Regions from separate parts of the Homo sapiens genome. Here all the other regions are linked to region 1. The links are contacts of gene promoters, found by promoter capture Hi-C in blood cells and fetal thymus (Javierre and others, 2016). All regions are on one chromosome and are shown on one strand. The core of a region is centred on a gene start or on the middle of the fragment in contact, and the rest is flanking DNA. Distances in the headings are between cores, read along the strand shown. Region 1 holds the start of AEN (apoptosis enhancing nuclease). Region 2 overlaps ABHD2 (abhydrolase domain containing 2, acylglycerol lipase). Region 3 overlaps ABHD2 (abhydrolase domain containing 2, acylglycerol lipase). Region 4 overlaps FANCI (FA complementation group I).

Region 1 (3,255 bases), core at 122-2,621:
ACAAGTTTTTTCAAATGCAGATTCACTGGTAAACTATCTATGGCTTAAATCCCTCTGCCTCCCCAAAGCCTTCAGGGGCCTGGGTAAAAGGATTGATCTCTCTTGTGACCTCATCCCTTGTCCTGCTTCCCTCAAATTTGTACTCCCATCAGAAAGAGCTCCTAGCTTATTTCTCATCACAGGTACGTTTCCAAATCACTTCTGCTTGCAAAATGTGAACTAAGAGAAGTCAGACTGCTTAGGTAAGGATCTTTGGATTCTAGGTGTTTCTCCTTAATTTAAGTGTCAATTTCCTTAACTGTAAAACTGAAATAATAGTAAGGTCATTGTACAAATTAACTGAGTATTTTGCCTGGCACATCATTCGTGCTCACATAATACGTGTGAACTGTTTATTATTGTTCTTGTTATTACTCATGTTACACTGAATTTTCTTTCTTTCTTTCTTTCTTTTTTTTTGAGACGGAGTTTTGCTCTTGGTGCCCAGGCTGGATGGAGTGCAATGGCGCGATCTCGGCTCACTGCAACCTCCGCCTTCTGGGCTCAAGCGATTCTCCTGCCTCAGCCTCCCGAGTAGCTGGGATTACAGGCTCCCGTCAACGCCCGGCTAATTTTTGTATTTTTGGAGAGATGGGGTTTCATGTTGGTCAGGCTGGTCTCAAACTCCTGACTTCAGGTGATCACCTGCCTCGGCCTCCCAAAGTGCTGGGATTACAGTCGTGAGCCACCGCGCCCCGGCCTCATGTTGCACTGAATTTTCTGTTAACCTTGCTGTTTCCCTGCTGTTAGATAAACAACTCAGGATGCTTATGTGTTTATTGTGTGCATCCCACTGCCAAGCCCACGTAGGAACTTAATACTTAGGAGTCAAGTGTTGCAAAAGAATAAATGAAAAAGCAGCGCTGACGGAGGAAACCTGACTTTCAAAGTCTCTCTTTAGTGCCTACTGTGTATATTATTTCCTTGAATCCCAGAACACCCGAGGAGGTAAGGGCCGATGTTCCCAATCTGCAGATGTGGGTGTACTCAGTAAGTCATTCGGCCTTTGGTGGTACCAGGCTTACAGGAGCCCACATCCCGACCCAGGTAGAGGAGTGGATTGGAGCCGGGGAACACTGATGGGACCGGGCAGGGACGACAGGAGGTCAGTCTCCCTTCCCTTCTCTTTAAAATTTCCCGCCAGTATGGCCGGCTCGCAGCACGAGTTACGCCCTCTTCAGGAGTCCCTCCCCTTCTGCTCTCGCCCGCCTCCCCGCTGCCAGGCAGGCTCGACCAATCAGAAGAGGTCTTGGGCGGGCGCTGCCGTCCAGCGAGCCAATAGGCGGGCAGTCGGAGCCGGGCTTGCCCGGGCATGTGGGAGCTGCCGGCTTTCCGGACGCCACGTGCAGACCGGAAGAGACACGCGGGGCTTCAGGTGAGATCCAGGACCCTGCACCGGGGCGGCGGGGTCGGGCGGGCTGAGGCCGCGTGTCCCGGGTCGCAGGTCCCCGCGCGTTGTTTCCGCCCCGGCCTGCGGCGGGGACGCCTGAACTGGGCTGACCCTGCCCTACCGGCCCGCAGAAAAGCAGGCCGGGCGCCGCCTGTCTCCAGCCCTCGCTCTGCTCGGGGGTCCAGGGCCAGAGGGGGCGGCGCTGGTCGTTGGGACTCGGCCCAGCTGCCGCGGCCAGCAAGTGACCAACGCCCGAGTCCTTCCCGGTGAGATCAGGCCTCCCACGCGTCACGCCTGGGAGAACGCCAGCCGGCGGGGAGGTCGTGCCAGGATAGCAGACTTTAGTTGTTGTCGTTGTTCCGTGGACTTTTTAGCAGCACAGGGGACCTTATCGAGCCAGGTTTTTTCAGGTTTGGGCGATTATCAGAATTGTGGCTTGAGGGTAGGGGTCGTCCGCGCTCTTTTTAAAAATCTAGATTCTCAGGCCCCTTTCCCCAAAATAGCAATTAGGACGGTGTGGGAGTGGGCCTGAAAATCAGCCTTTCATCAGATGTCATATGGTAATTAACTACATTTGGGAAGCCCTTATCTAATTCACAGCCCTCGGTTGATGGTGAAGAGACGTGACTTGCCCCAGATCATCTAGCTACTTAGTGCCAGAGGAGGGTCTAGAACTGCCCTCTGCCCTCTTGATCAGCCAGCAGGTTGGTGGCTCTCATGCCACCGAGGATTCTGACTTCTTGGTTCCTTTGGGGCCTTTGCTCCATTGACTCTGCAGCTGGGACCCTTTCTTTAGGCCAGACCCCCTCCCTGCCTGAAGGCCGGGTGTCTGACCCCCAGAGCGCTGGGTCCAGGCTAGAGAAAGGCTTGTGTTTGTCCTTGTTGAAAGGGTTGTTTTATCTGAGCGGAACTTCTCTCCAGCTTCACTGAGCTACATTTGGGTCCCCAAAGAGGTGTGTCCTTGATGACTGTTGGTTTTGACGTGTCAGCATGTAGCAGGAGGAGCCGCGGACAAAACCCCACAGAGGTAGTGAAGGAATTGGCTTTTAATCAGCTGGAAGCATCGGCAGACTAGCATCTCAAAATCCGAGCTTGTTGAGTGCACAGTTTCTGTCCCTTTTAAGGACTCACAACACTAAAGATTTTACAAGAAAGGGCCATGATTGATTGAGCAATCTAGGGGGTATGTGACAGGGACTGCATGCACCGGTAGTCAGAGTGAAACAGAACAGAACAGAACAAGAGATTTCACAGTGTCCTTCTATACAATGTCTGAAATCTATGGATAACATCGGTTGCTAGGTCATGGGTTTAATTTTAACTATCAGGCTAAGGTCAGGCAGGCCCAGGCCTGGTTTTGGGTCTGGTTTTGGGTCTGGTGCGTGGCGCCGGGCTGCCTGCCTTTGGTTTTGCTTCCTTGTTTCTTCTTAAAACAGGTACTGAGTATAAAATAATACAGAACAATATGAGGGGGAGGTCTCTTTCTCTCTTCTCTTAAGCAAGGTCAGGGTGTTTGGAAAAGGACTACTTTCCTCTCTTGAAATAGGAGGCTACAGAGACCTTTTCTCAGATAACTTAATTTCTGGCTTCTTTAAAACCTTGCCAGTAGGATCAGGAAAGCCACCCACCCTACTCCTAGCCTCAGCCCCTCACAGAGAAAGGAGGGGACTATCCGCCAGCCCCCTTTCCCAAATTAGTTATTAGCAGGGTGGGCATTGGGCTTCTTAGGCTTTTTTCTCCCATTGCTGGGCTGAGGCAGATTAAGGTTCTGAATTTGTCAGTTCTAAGATGTGACTGTCAATATGAGGAAGTTGGTTACAGTTAAG
Region 2 (3,430 bases), core at 593-3,092, 550 kb after region 1:
TTTTCATCTTGCAAAACTAAAACTATACCCATTAAACAACAACTCCCTAGCCCCTGGCAACCACCATTCTATTTTCCATCTGTAAATTTTACTAGTCCAGGTATGTCACATAAGTAGGATCCTACAGTATTTGTCCTTTTGTGAGTGGTTTACTTCATGTAGCATAATGTCCTCAAGGTTCTTCCATGCTGTAGCATGTGACGGGATGTCCTTCCCTTTTAAAGCTGAATAATATTGCATTGTACACATGTACCACATTGCTCTTATCCATTCATCCATCAAGGCACACTTGGGTTGGTTCCACTTTTTGGCTATTGTGAATAATGCTGCTATAAACATGGGTATACTTACATATTTTTAAAAGAGAAAATAATTAGAGTCAGTTATAGCCATTAACATTGAATGCTTATTATGCTCTGGACCCTGATCTAAGCTGTTTATGTATATCACTTTATTCACATCTCTAAACAACTCTACGAAGTCTTTACTCTTGTTACTTCCATTTTACAGATGATGAAACAGACCTAGGAGAGTTTGGTAACTTACCCAAGGTAACGGTATTTTGCACAGTTTCCTCACTACAAAAATTGTCTGGGCTGTTTGTTGAAAGTTCCCATTCCCAGGCCTCATCCTATTCCTGTAGGTTCTAAGCCTCCAGAAAGGAGCCTGGAAGCTGAAGATTTTCCCTGTATACGGGGGTTACTTGTCATCAAAGAGAAATTGAGAACATTTGGGGCCACTAAGTGGTAGGCCCAAGCAGTCTGGCCACAGGGCCTTTTCACTTAGCCATGAGGCCAGGCTGCTCCTTTAAGGCCTGGTTTTCAGTGCCTGTTATGGCCCAAGGGAGGTGAACAAATGTCTCCTTTGGGATTTCTAAATTTTTTATTTGTTGCGTGGTGTAGAAGCTGATATCAGCTAATTGCTCATTGTGCTCTCAGCTGTTTGTTTGCACATCCCCTTTTTTATATCACAGCTACATTTTGAAATCCAGCATTCCCTGGAGGCATAATATTCCTTCCATTGCTACCTTCTTAAAAAGAGAAACTTGGCCAGGGCAGTGGCTCATGCCTGTAATCCCAGCACTTTGGGAGGCGGAGGCAGGCAGATCACCTGAGGTCAGGAGTTCAAGACCAGACTGGCCAACAAGACAAAACCCTGTCTCTACTAAAAATACAAAAATTAGCTGGACATGGTGGCACATGCCTGTAACCCCAGCTACTCAGGGGGCTGAGGCAGGAGGATCGCTTGAACCTGAGAGGCAGAGGTTGTAGTGAGCCAAGATTGTGCCACTGCACTCCAGCCTGGGTGACAGAGCGAGACTCTGTCTCAAAAACAAACGAACAAAAAGAAACTTGAATGAATCTGACTTCGGTGGGGACAACAGTCTGGCATTTCACATTCCAAAGTTAAGAGTTCAAGGATCCTTCTGGACCAGGTTTTTGTTCCTTCCCTGTCCTCAGGGCCCATTCAGAGGCCTTGTCATCAGAATCCACTCAATTCAGCAACTCTTTATTGAAGGCCTGCAAACTGCCCCAGCCTCTGCTGAGTGTAAGAGGGAGAAAAATAAGCAGCTTGATCCTCTACTATCTCACTGGAGAGGGAGACGGGCTGCCTTCTCAAAGTTGGTGCCTGGGTCCTGCTGTTTGGGAGGAAGCAGCTCTTGGCCCGGTTTTTCCCTTAGTTTTAGGCATCTCTTGCTTAAGCTCCTTCTAAGCCCCCAGCATTTCCAGATCATGATTATTAGTCAAAAGTATAGGGGATACTGTCTGGGAAGAGGCATGAGGAGGCCTCCAGGGGTGTCAAAAATATTCTGCGTCTTCATCTGGGCAATGCTTACCTGGGTATAAATGTGTAAAATTTCATTGATTGTGCATTTTCCTGTATGTATGTTATACCCCATTAAAAATAAAAAAGAATAGGGCAGTTTCAAGTGTATTGATGCATAATATTGCCAGACATATTGTAAAGGGAAAAAAAGAGCCACCGAACAATGTGTATGTTACCACTGGTATTTTTAAAAAGAATATAGGAAACTTACCTTTCACTCCATCTTTTACAGCATTTGAATTTTCTACCATGGGCATGAATTACCTACTCAAAAACAAAGTCACTATAGATTCCTGGGCTTGGTCCCCATCTTACAGAATCAGCTTCTCTGGAGTTGAGGCCCAGGAATGGTCATTTCTAACACCCTCTCCAGGTGATTCTATGCACACTGCAGCTTAAGAACTGCATGGGGCTGTGCCGGCCTGGCTTAGGCTACATCCTACCACAAAAGAAGACAGATATAAGGGGAGTTTACCCCAGGCTCAAAAGATACTTTCCCCCATGGCTTGATGATTAGGGAAGGAGCTGTTCAACTCTATTAAGAATGCCAAAACCTCTGAGCTGGTGCCAAAGTCAACAACTCCCGTTTCCATTGTAAATCCGTACTCTTCTCATGCCAGTCTATTTTGTATGTGCTTTGCGTCGACATCCCTATCTTTCCATGTTAGATTTTAAATTGGCTCCCTACAGAGTTTGAGGTTGGGCCTTAGAAGGATGTGATGAATCCCTTCACTTGTAATATGGCCATTCACCTCCTCCTCTTAGCAAAGCTGCTGAGACATAACATGGCTTCAATAACTTCCCAAGGGGACACCAGCTGAGATCATCTCTCCTGGGCAAATGAGGCCCAAACAACCCTCTCTGTTAAGAGGTCTCATCTGTGTATTTTTGAATGAGCCTGCCTCCCTTGGCACCCTGTCCCTATGTCACCAAGAACGTTTTACCCTAATCCTACAGAGCATCCTGGCAGTCCCTCTGGACTGAAGTTTATCTTTCCTCTCCTTTCCAACTCTGTCAAGAAGATTCTGTAAATAACATCCACTTGCTACTTTTCTTAACACCATGAATCATCATACACATGGGTATAGCATCCCAATTTGTAGCCTAGGAAGCTAATCTCAAAGGATTTTGCTCTTGCATTTATTTATTTATTTACTTATTTTATTTTTTTGAGACAGGGTCTCACTCTGTCACCCAGGCTGGAGTGCAGTGATGCGATCTTGGCTCACTGTAGCCTCTGCCTCCCCGGCTCAAGGGATCCTCTTGCCTCAGCCTCCTAAGTAGCGGGGACTACAAGGACACACCTGTAGTGTGTAGAGGTGGGGTCTCACCATTTTGTCCAGGCTGGCCTAGCTTTTATTTAGGTCTGTGTGTGAGCATATGTGCTCATGCACACCCTGAAATCTGCTTTGATATCCATGATTATCTAGACACGGTTCTTGTGACCTACCTTTTAAGAAGCATTGTACATTTGATACATGGTACCTCCACGCTTTGGCACTGCTGAGGCCCTGTTTCCTCTTATCCCAAGGGGCATCTGGGAACTTCTGTCTGGATAGCCAAAGAGCAGTGTCTGTCTCTCTCTCCACACACATCCCCCGAC
Region 3 (3,603 bases), core at 1,029-3,528, 530 kb after region 1:
ATTTGTAACATATGATAGATAATGGCTTAATGTAGGGATAATAAAACAATACTTATAAATCAATAGAAAAATAGACAAAGGATATCAACAGACAGTTCACAGAAGAGAAATACAAATGACTAGTAAACATGAATCAGCGAAATGCAAATTCAAACAAGCAACTTTTTTTCAACCATAGATTGGGTCAACCTTAAACACAAGTTGAAACAAGATACCCATTTTTTTGCCCATCAAAGTGGCCAGAATGTAAAAGATTAATAATGCCAATTATTAATGAGGGTGAGGAAGACAGGTACTTTCCTTCGTTATTGGTGGGAATGTAAATGAACCCATCTTTTTTAGAAGGCAACTTGGCAGTATCTACAAAATGTAAAACGCACATACCTCTCAGTTCCATCACAGTGCCTTCTGTATGCCCTCTCATCAGGCTTACAAGGAGGAGAGTGCAAAAGCAGCCATATCTCCTAAGGGCCAGGCCTAAATTGGCATGGCAGTCCTTCTGCCACCTTCTGTAAGCCCAGAGAAGCCACAGGCCAGTCCAGATCACAAGGAGGGAATCTAGCTCCCGGCAGAAGAATGGAATAAGTGGAATTATTGGCCGCTACATTTTCGAACTACCACATAGATAGAAAAAGCATATTCCTTCGTGTACCATTTTAGCAGCATTTCTTCAGTATTTATATGTTTATATAAATTTCAAAATATTCTATTGTTTTAGTCCATATTTCCTTCCTGACCTAAACCATGTGACTGGGCACCTATTCAGTTTTTTGTTTTTAAATTTTTTTCTTGTGGTCTGTGGATAAGTTATATAAACAAACAACTACACATTGAACCCCACCATAGTAAATGCAGTCTAAAAATTCAATTTTGTAAACCCTGGTGTTGTATTATTATGAAGTTAATTAAAAACAGTGTTTTATCAGTAGGTATTGTCATAAAATTAAACCTTTTGAGACTTCCACTGTGTATAATTGATCTTACATTGAACTGAGAAAGTCCCAAGTGATTGTGAGGCAATTGATCCCTAACACACACACACACACACACACACACACTCACACTGAGAATTACTGCACCCCACTCTGAGAATGGGGTGTTAGGTAGGCTGGAAAGAGGACAGTCGCCTAACGCCAATCATGTAATAGCTGAATTCACATTATTATGGCACATATTATTTTTAAATATATTTTTGTATATTTTAAAAACATATATTTGTCCTTTTAGATTTACTAAGTGTCTCTATATTCTGTTCATTGAAGCAAATCTCCCCCAGGTGTGTAATGTATGTCCAGTGCTCTGGGGATAGAGCTAGAGGTGAATGAGCAGCAGGAGGGGTTGGCTTGAAAACAGCATCTAAAGTAATCAAGTCACCTGGATGTTAGGACGGAGCTGTGCATGGAGAAGGGGCAACCCCCCCAGCAACCTGACTGGAAGTGAGTCTTGAAAGACAAGTAGTAGGTGGCCCAAAGAAACGCTGGGTGTGAAAGAGCATTCCAGTCAAAGGAGACAGCTTGAGCAAAGACTCCTCAGATAAAAGTAGTTCAACACCACGTGTACCTGTTCTGGCTGGAGTTGGGCCTGGTAGTTTAGGTTTATTTGAGCTTAGGCAAGAAGTTAAGCGAGTACCAGGGTGTAGCCGGCCTCCTAGGCCAAGTGAGGACCCATGCAGTGGAGGGTGGGGGCCAGGCTTGTGTGTTGAGATCACCCCTCCATTGGCGGGTGGATGATGGAGTAGGTGGTGAGAGCAAGACTAGAGGCTTGGAGGCCGCTTGGGGGGCTGCTGCCAAGATTTTGAGGAGGGGACCTGACTCTAAACTGGGAATGTGGCATCAGGACAGTCACATGTGTCATCATTAAATGTGAAATCTGTGACTAGACAAAAAGAAATTTTACTTCATTCTTTTGTTCTATTTTCTGAGATTATATTGTATTCTAAACATGATCAGAAGGTAGGCATATGAAATTTACTCATTCTTCTGATATTTTTAAGCTCAGCATATTTCCACTTTTAATTTATAAACAAAATTTTCTTTAAACTTTCCTCCAGGAGTGATCAAAAGCTTAATTTCTTGGATAGTCCTCTTCCTCTATGCAAAACTTATTATCTAACTTGGTAGTCTGAAATCCTTTATAAGTTCTGTATCTAGATCTTGTATAGTGTTTGGTTGTCCAATTGACATTTTTATAAGCTTGCTTTTTGTTACTGTCATAATCCACTCAGCTCTTATAAATGCCTTCGCCTGCCTTCCAAATGCCATGGCTTTTGCAGTGATATTTGCACCTGTGGTGTTACGCTGGCAAGTGGCTTCATGTCCTTAAGGTCTTAAAATACTCTTTCCCCTCCTCCCCTCCCCCGAAAAGGAAGCTTGTCTGGGAACTGGTTTGCTTAAGGTGATAGCTTCACTTCTCTTAACTTTGTGTAGATTTGATTAATTACACACACATACAAGGAGTAAATCAAAGATGGGTTTTGGGGATCATCTGGTTCTGAGAGAAATGATAGGCAAGTAGGTTAAGGTAAATTATTAATAAAACACTCACCACTGCCATATAATACAGAGGGGAATGATTGACGTCACTATCATTTTATATTATACGACTCCAGTTTATATAGGAGACAAATCCTGGACAACCATCAAGCTTGGGCTAAAAGCCATGGAAGTGAAACCAACAGCGGTTTCAGTAAATGCAGTCACCTTGTACTGTGGTTGTAAACCATAATCATTTCTTAGTTGTAACTTGGATCATCTTCTTTTCCTGGTAATTAACTATTTGTGATTTTTGCATTTCCTACCAACGCCTAGAGTCACTCTGTGTTTTTACAATGCACCGTTGTTAGCGAGGCTTCATGCCTTGCGTAGGCTAACAAGCCTTTATCCTTAATCAATCCAACAAATATTTACACTGCACTGCCCTTACAGCATATTCTCTGGAGCATAGAGTAGTGCCCTCACCCCACAAGGCACTTACAGGCTCTTAGAAGAATTTGCAGCCCTTCCCAGCACTAACTGAGAGTAGCAGGTTTGGCTAATGGAGTAACCACTACAGCTGTGGCCTGTCTCGTTAGGGAAAGAAGAAGTGAGCTTTTAGTGAGTGTAGGCGCTATGCTATTTCATATACATCAGCTCCTTTAATAATGAGCTAACCTGTCAAGTTAGAATGTGTTCAAAATATATCACTTGCTTTCTTTTTATTCTATATTATGGAAATAAGCCATGTTGAATTACTTAACAGTTACCCTAAATTGAAATCCTCTTTATATATATGTCCTGGTTGATTTCTAAAGCTAATCTGATGCAGAGTGTATTAGTAAATGGGGAAAGGCGGTAAATCATGGCACGGATGTAACGTAATAAAAGCCTCATGTTTATGCTTTGTGTGCAGAATTTCCCTGGAACAAAAATAGGTTGAAAGAGTTTTGCTAAAAGATTTTTCAGAACGTTGCTCAAGGAATGTAGAGAAAATTGACCTCCCTTGTCCTTTCTTTAGATACATTCCACCGTTGATCTGGGGGAAAAGTGGACACATCCAGACAGCCTTGTATGGGAAGATGGGAAGGGTGAGGTCGCCACATCCTTATGGGCACCGGAAGTTCATCAC
Region 4 (3,275 bases), core at 158-2,657, 630 kb after region 1:
TAAAGAAATTGGGGTGAGGGAATGAGAGAAATAGACTACTTGAGGGCATTTGTGACCAAGTTTAAACCTGAAATAGTTTAAGAATAGAATGCTTTTACAACTGTATTTATAAAAGCAATTAGTATACTTTTATGGTCCTCAGAACAATCCTATTTGATGATAATATCCAGACTATAGTTACTGATTGAGACATTAGTTTTGCATTTTGATGCTTCTCTGTATTTTTCCGTAAAGAAATTAAGTTTATAAGCGGCAAAATATTTTGAAATTATTAGTAAAAATTAGGGCCTCTGTTTTCACTATAAGTGTAGGATTATAAAATGGGATAGTAATTGCCTTATATGTTAGGCTGTTTCTTCTCCCTAATGTTCTTTCTCAGCTGATATACTGCTCCTTTTTCCATAAGTGATCTCATCCTATCCAGGTCCCTGCCTGGAAAAGAATCCCTCTTCAAGGTATATGTACAAACAAGTAAAGACATTGAGTATCATGGGATTTTTTTCCTTTTTCTGTCAATTGATGAGTATTATGTTTTTAAGGGAATTTCTTTGTGTTAATGTTGTAGTTATTGAAGGAAGGTGCATCTTAGTGTGTGTTATCTGACATACTAACTAGGAATTGATGCAGTGTTGCTCTTTGATTTTTTTTTCTTTGAAATTATCCAAGATTGCCTTTATAGCTATTTTTTGAGATGACTTGTTGCATGAGTTGTAACTTGAATCATTCTATAGACAAGATTTGATTGAAACTAGCATTTAAATTATTTATTTAAAGTTTCATGCCTCAAATTGAAGGCGTGAACACTGTCAAATTGAAGACAGTGTTCCAGATGTTTTCTGACTCTAGGATAGAGTAATGCTAATATTTCCCTCATTTTTCCATTAATGCAAAATCAGCTTTTTGGCAGCAACATTATATTGTAGTCTCATTGCTCTTATATTTATTTTTGTATATGTTGATAAGTTGCTAAGTTTCCTTTATCTCTGAAGTCCTTTTAGAATCCATGTTAAAAACTATATATAGGCCAGGCATGGTGACTTACACCTGTAGTCCCAGCACTTTGGGAGGATTCCTTTAGGCCAGGAGTTCGAGATCAGCTTAGGCAACATAGTGAGACCCAGTTTCTAAAAACAACTACCAAAACAACAAACTTTATATCTGTTAACTGTCACCTTTTTTAGATTCATCTTGTTTTACTCCATCAAGATCATTTTGTATGATTCTGCTGACCGTATTAATCAGCTTTTTATCCTCTACAAATTTGTTAAGCATGTCAGTAATATATGCAGGCAGTTCATTTGATAAAATGTCCCACAGAAGATGAACTCAGAGTAAAAAATTATAAAACACATAAAGAAGTCCTGTGGCAAGAAAGACTCAAACAGAAATGGGAAAATTCATATTCAAGGATTTAGAGCAATCTGAAAAAAATCTTTAATTATTTAACACAAATACTTAATACAGTATTTAACTTTATTTATTTAAAGGTGGGATCTCACCCTTGCACAGGCTGGAGTGCAGTGGGGCGATCTCGGCACACTGCAGCCTCAACCTCCTGGGCTCATGCGATCCTCCCACCTCAGCCTCCTGAGTAGCTGGGAGTACAAGCATGTGCCACCATGTCCGACTAATTTTTGTATTTTTAGCAGAGATGGGGTTTCGCCATGCTTTCCAGGCTGGTCTTGAACTCCTGAGCTCAAGCAATCCACCCACCTCAGCCTCCCACAGTGCCGGGATTACACGTGTGAGCCACTCTGCCTGACCTAGTATTTAAAATATTTGAAGATGTAAATGAAGGAATAGAACTCACAAAATAAGGGATGGATTTAGAAAACAATGAAAGACAACTTCTTGAAATGAAAACCTCAGTAGGTGGTTTAACAGTAGACAAAACATTGCTAAAGAGAAAATTAGTAAAGTGGAATACAGAGCTGAGGATAACTAAATAAAGCACAGATTGTAAAGAGGTGGAAAATATAAAGAATATTTAAAATATATGCAGAGAACTTTGATAAGAATATATTATCTTCTTAAACACATAGAATGTTCATAAAAATTAATCACATGTCATATACTAGAGCACAAAGAAAACATGGGTAGGTCCCATAAGGTAGAATTATTACAAACTATTCTCTGTGATCACAATGCAATAAAACTGGAAATGAAAACCGAAACTAAAAGTCAAAAAGCAAAGACACTTTTACTTGGAAATTAAAATACCTTCTATTCAACCATTGTGGAAGACAGTGTGGCGATTTCTCAGGGATCTAGAACTAGAAATACCATTTGACCCAGTGATCCCATTACTGGGTATATACCCAAAGGACTGTAAATCATGCTGCTATAAAGACACATTCACACGTATGTTTATTGCGGCACTATTCACAATAGCAAAGACTTGGAACCAACCCAAGTGTCCAACAATGATAGACTGGATTAAGAAAATGTGGCACATCTACACCATGGAATACTATGCAGCCATAAAAAATGATGAGTTCATGTCCTTTGTAGGGACATGGATGAAGCTGGAAGCCATCATTCTCAGCAAACTATCGCAAGGACAAAAAAACCAAACCCCACATGTTCTCACTCATAGGTGGGAATTGAACAGTGAGAACACTTGGACACGGGAATGGGAACATCACACACCGGGGCCTGTTGTGGAGTGAGGGGAGGGGGGAGGGATAGCATTAGGAGATACACCTAATGTAAATGACGAGTTAATGGGTGCAGCACACCAACATGGCACATGTACGCATATGTAACAAACCTGCATGTTGTGCACATGTACCCTAGAACTTAAAGTATAATAAAAATATATATATATATAAAAATAAAAAAATACCTTCTAAATAACTCTTGGAGGAAAAGAGATACAAACAAATTACAGGATTTTTGAAGAATAATTACAGATAACAAAAATACTACATGTTAAAAATCCATGGAATAATGTTAAAAACAAGTGTTTAACAAATGAAATAATGAAATCAATACAAATGAAATAATGAAAATAAATAAATTCCCAACTCAAAAACCTAGAAAAAAGAGAAAGTAAACAACAACAAAAAAACACAAGAAACTACTAAAGATAAAAGTGGAAATTAATAAAGTAGAGAACAGAAAAATAGTGGATCAAATTAATCAAAATCTTGGTTCTTTGTGGGGGAAAAAAACACCATTAATTAATATAATAATCAAAACAGTGGAGTAAAAACATGCACAAAATGAGAAATGACAAGGGAGAAATACTGTTAATACAGAGAAAATCTCAAAAA

What was found. Contacts are between HindIII fragments. The CHiCAGO score rates a contact against its expected background, and 5 or more counts as called.
Region 2: a fragment that was not itself captured here is called in contact with the fragment with the promoter of AEN in region 1 in 1 of 17 cell types (total B cells); the score reaches 7.4 in total B cells.
Region 3: a contact is called between a fragment that was not itself captured here and the fragment with the promoter of AEN in region 1, in 4 of 17 cell types (total B cells, non-activated CD4 T cells, total CD8 T cells and 1 more). The highest score is 8.8, in total B cells.
Region 4: a fragment that was not itself captured here is called in contact with the fragment with the promoter of AEN in region 1 in 2 of 17 cell types (activated CD4 T cells and monocytes); the score reaches 6.6 in activated CD4 T cells.

What each region holds. Positions count from the first base shown.
Region 1 is chr15:88,619,969-88,623,223 of GRCh38, forward strand. AEN (apoptosis enhancing nuclease) reads left to right here and starts at 1,372. Exons shown (of 4, transcript NM_022767.4): 1 at 1,372-1,414. RefSeq lists enhancers at 580-1,253, 1,254-1,927, 1,257-1,416, 2,903-3,255 and a silencer at 1,437-1,626. The HindIII fragment of the contact is 13,176 bases long and covers 1-3,255 here.
Region 2 is chr15:89,172,245-89,175,674 of GRCh38, forward strand. The region is part of intron 5 of ABHD2 (abhydrolase domain containing 2, acylglycerol lipase); the gene reads left to right. Among named protein-coding and RNA genes, the nearest start is that of RLBP1, 48 kb to the right of the region's middle. The HindIII fragment of the contact is 4,890 bases long and covers 1-3,430 here.
Region 3 is chr15:89,148,185-89,151,787 of GRCh38, forward strand. It overlaps ABHD2 (abhydrolase domain containing 2, acylglycerol lipase), which reads left to right. Exons shown (of 11, transcript NM_152924.5): 4 at 3,493-3,603. Among named protein-coding and RNA genes, the nearest start is that of ABHD2, 62 kb to the left of the region's middle. The HindIII fragment of the contact is 176 bases long and covers 2,191-2,366 here.
Region 4 is chr15:89,247,884-89,251,158 of GRCh38, forward strand. The region is part of intron 2 of FANCI (FA complementation group I); the gene reads left to right. Among named protein-coding and RNA genes, the nearest start is that of FANCI, 5.5 kb to the left of the region's middle. The HindIII fragment of the contact is 3,959 bases long and covers 1-3,275 here.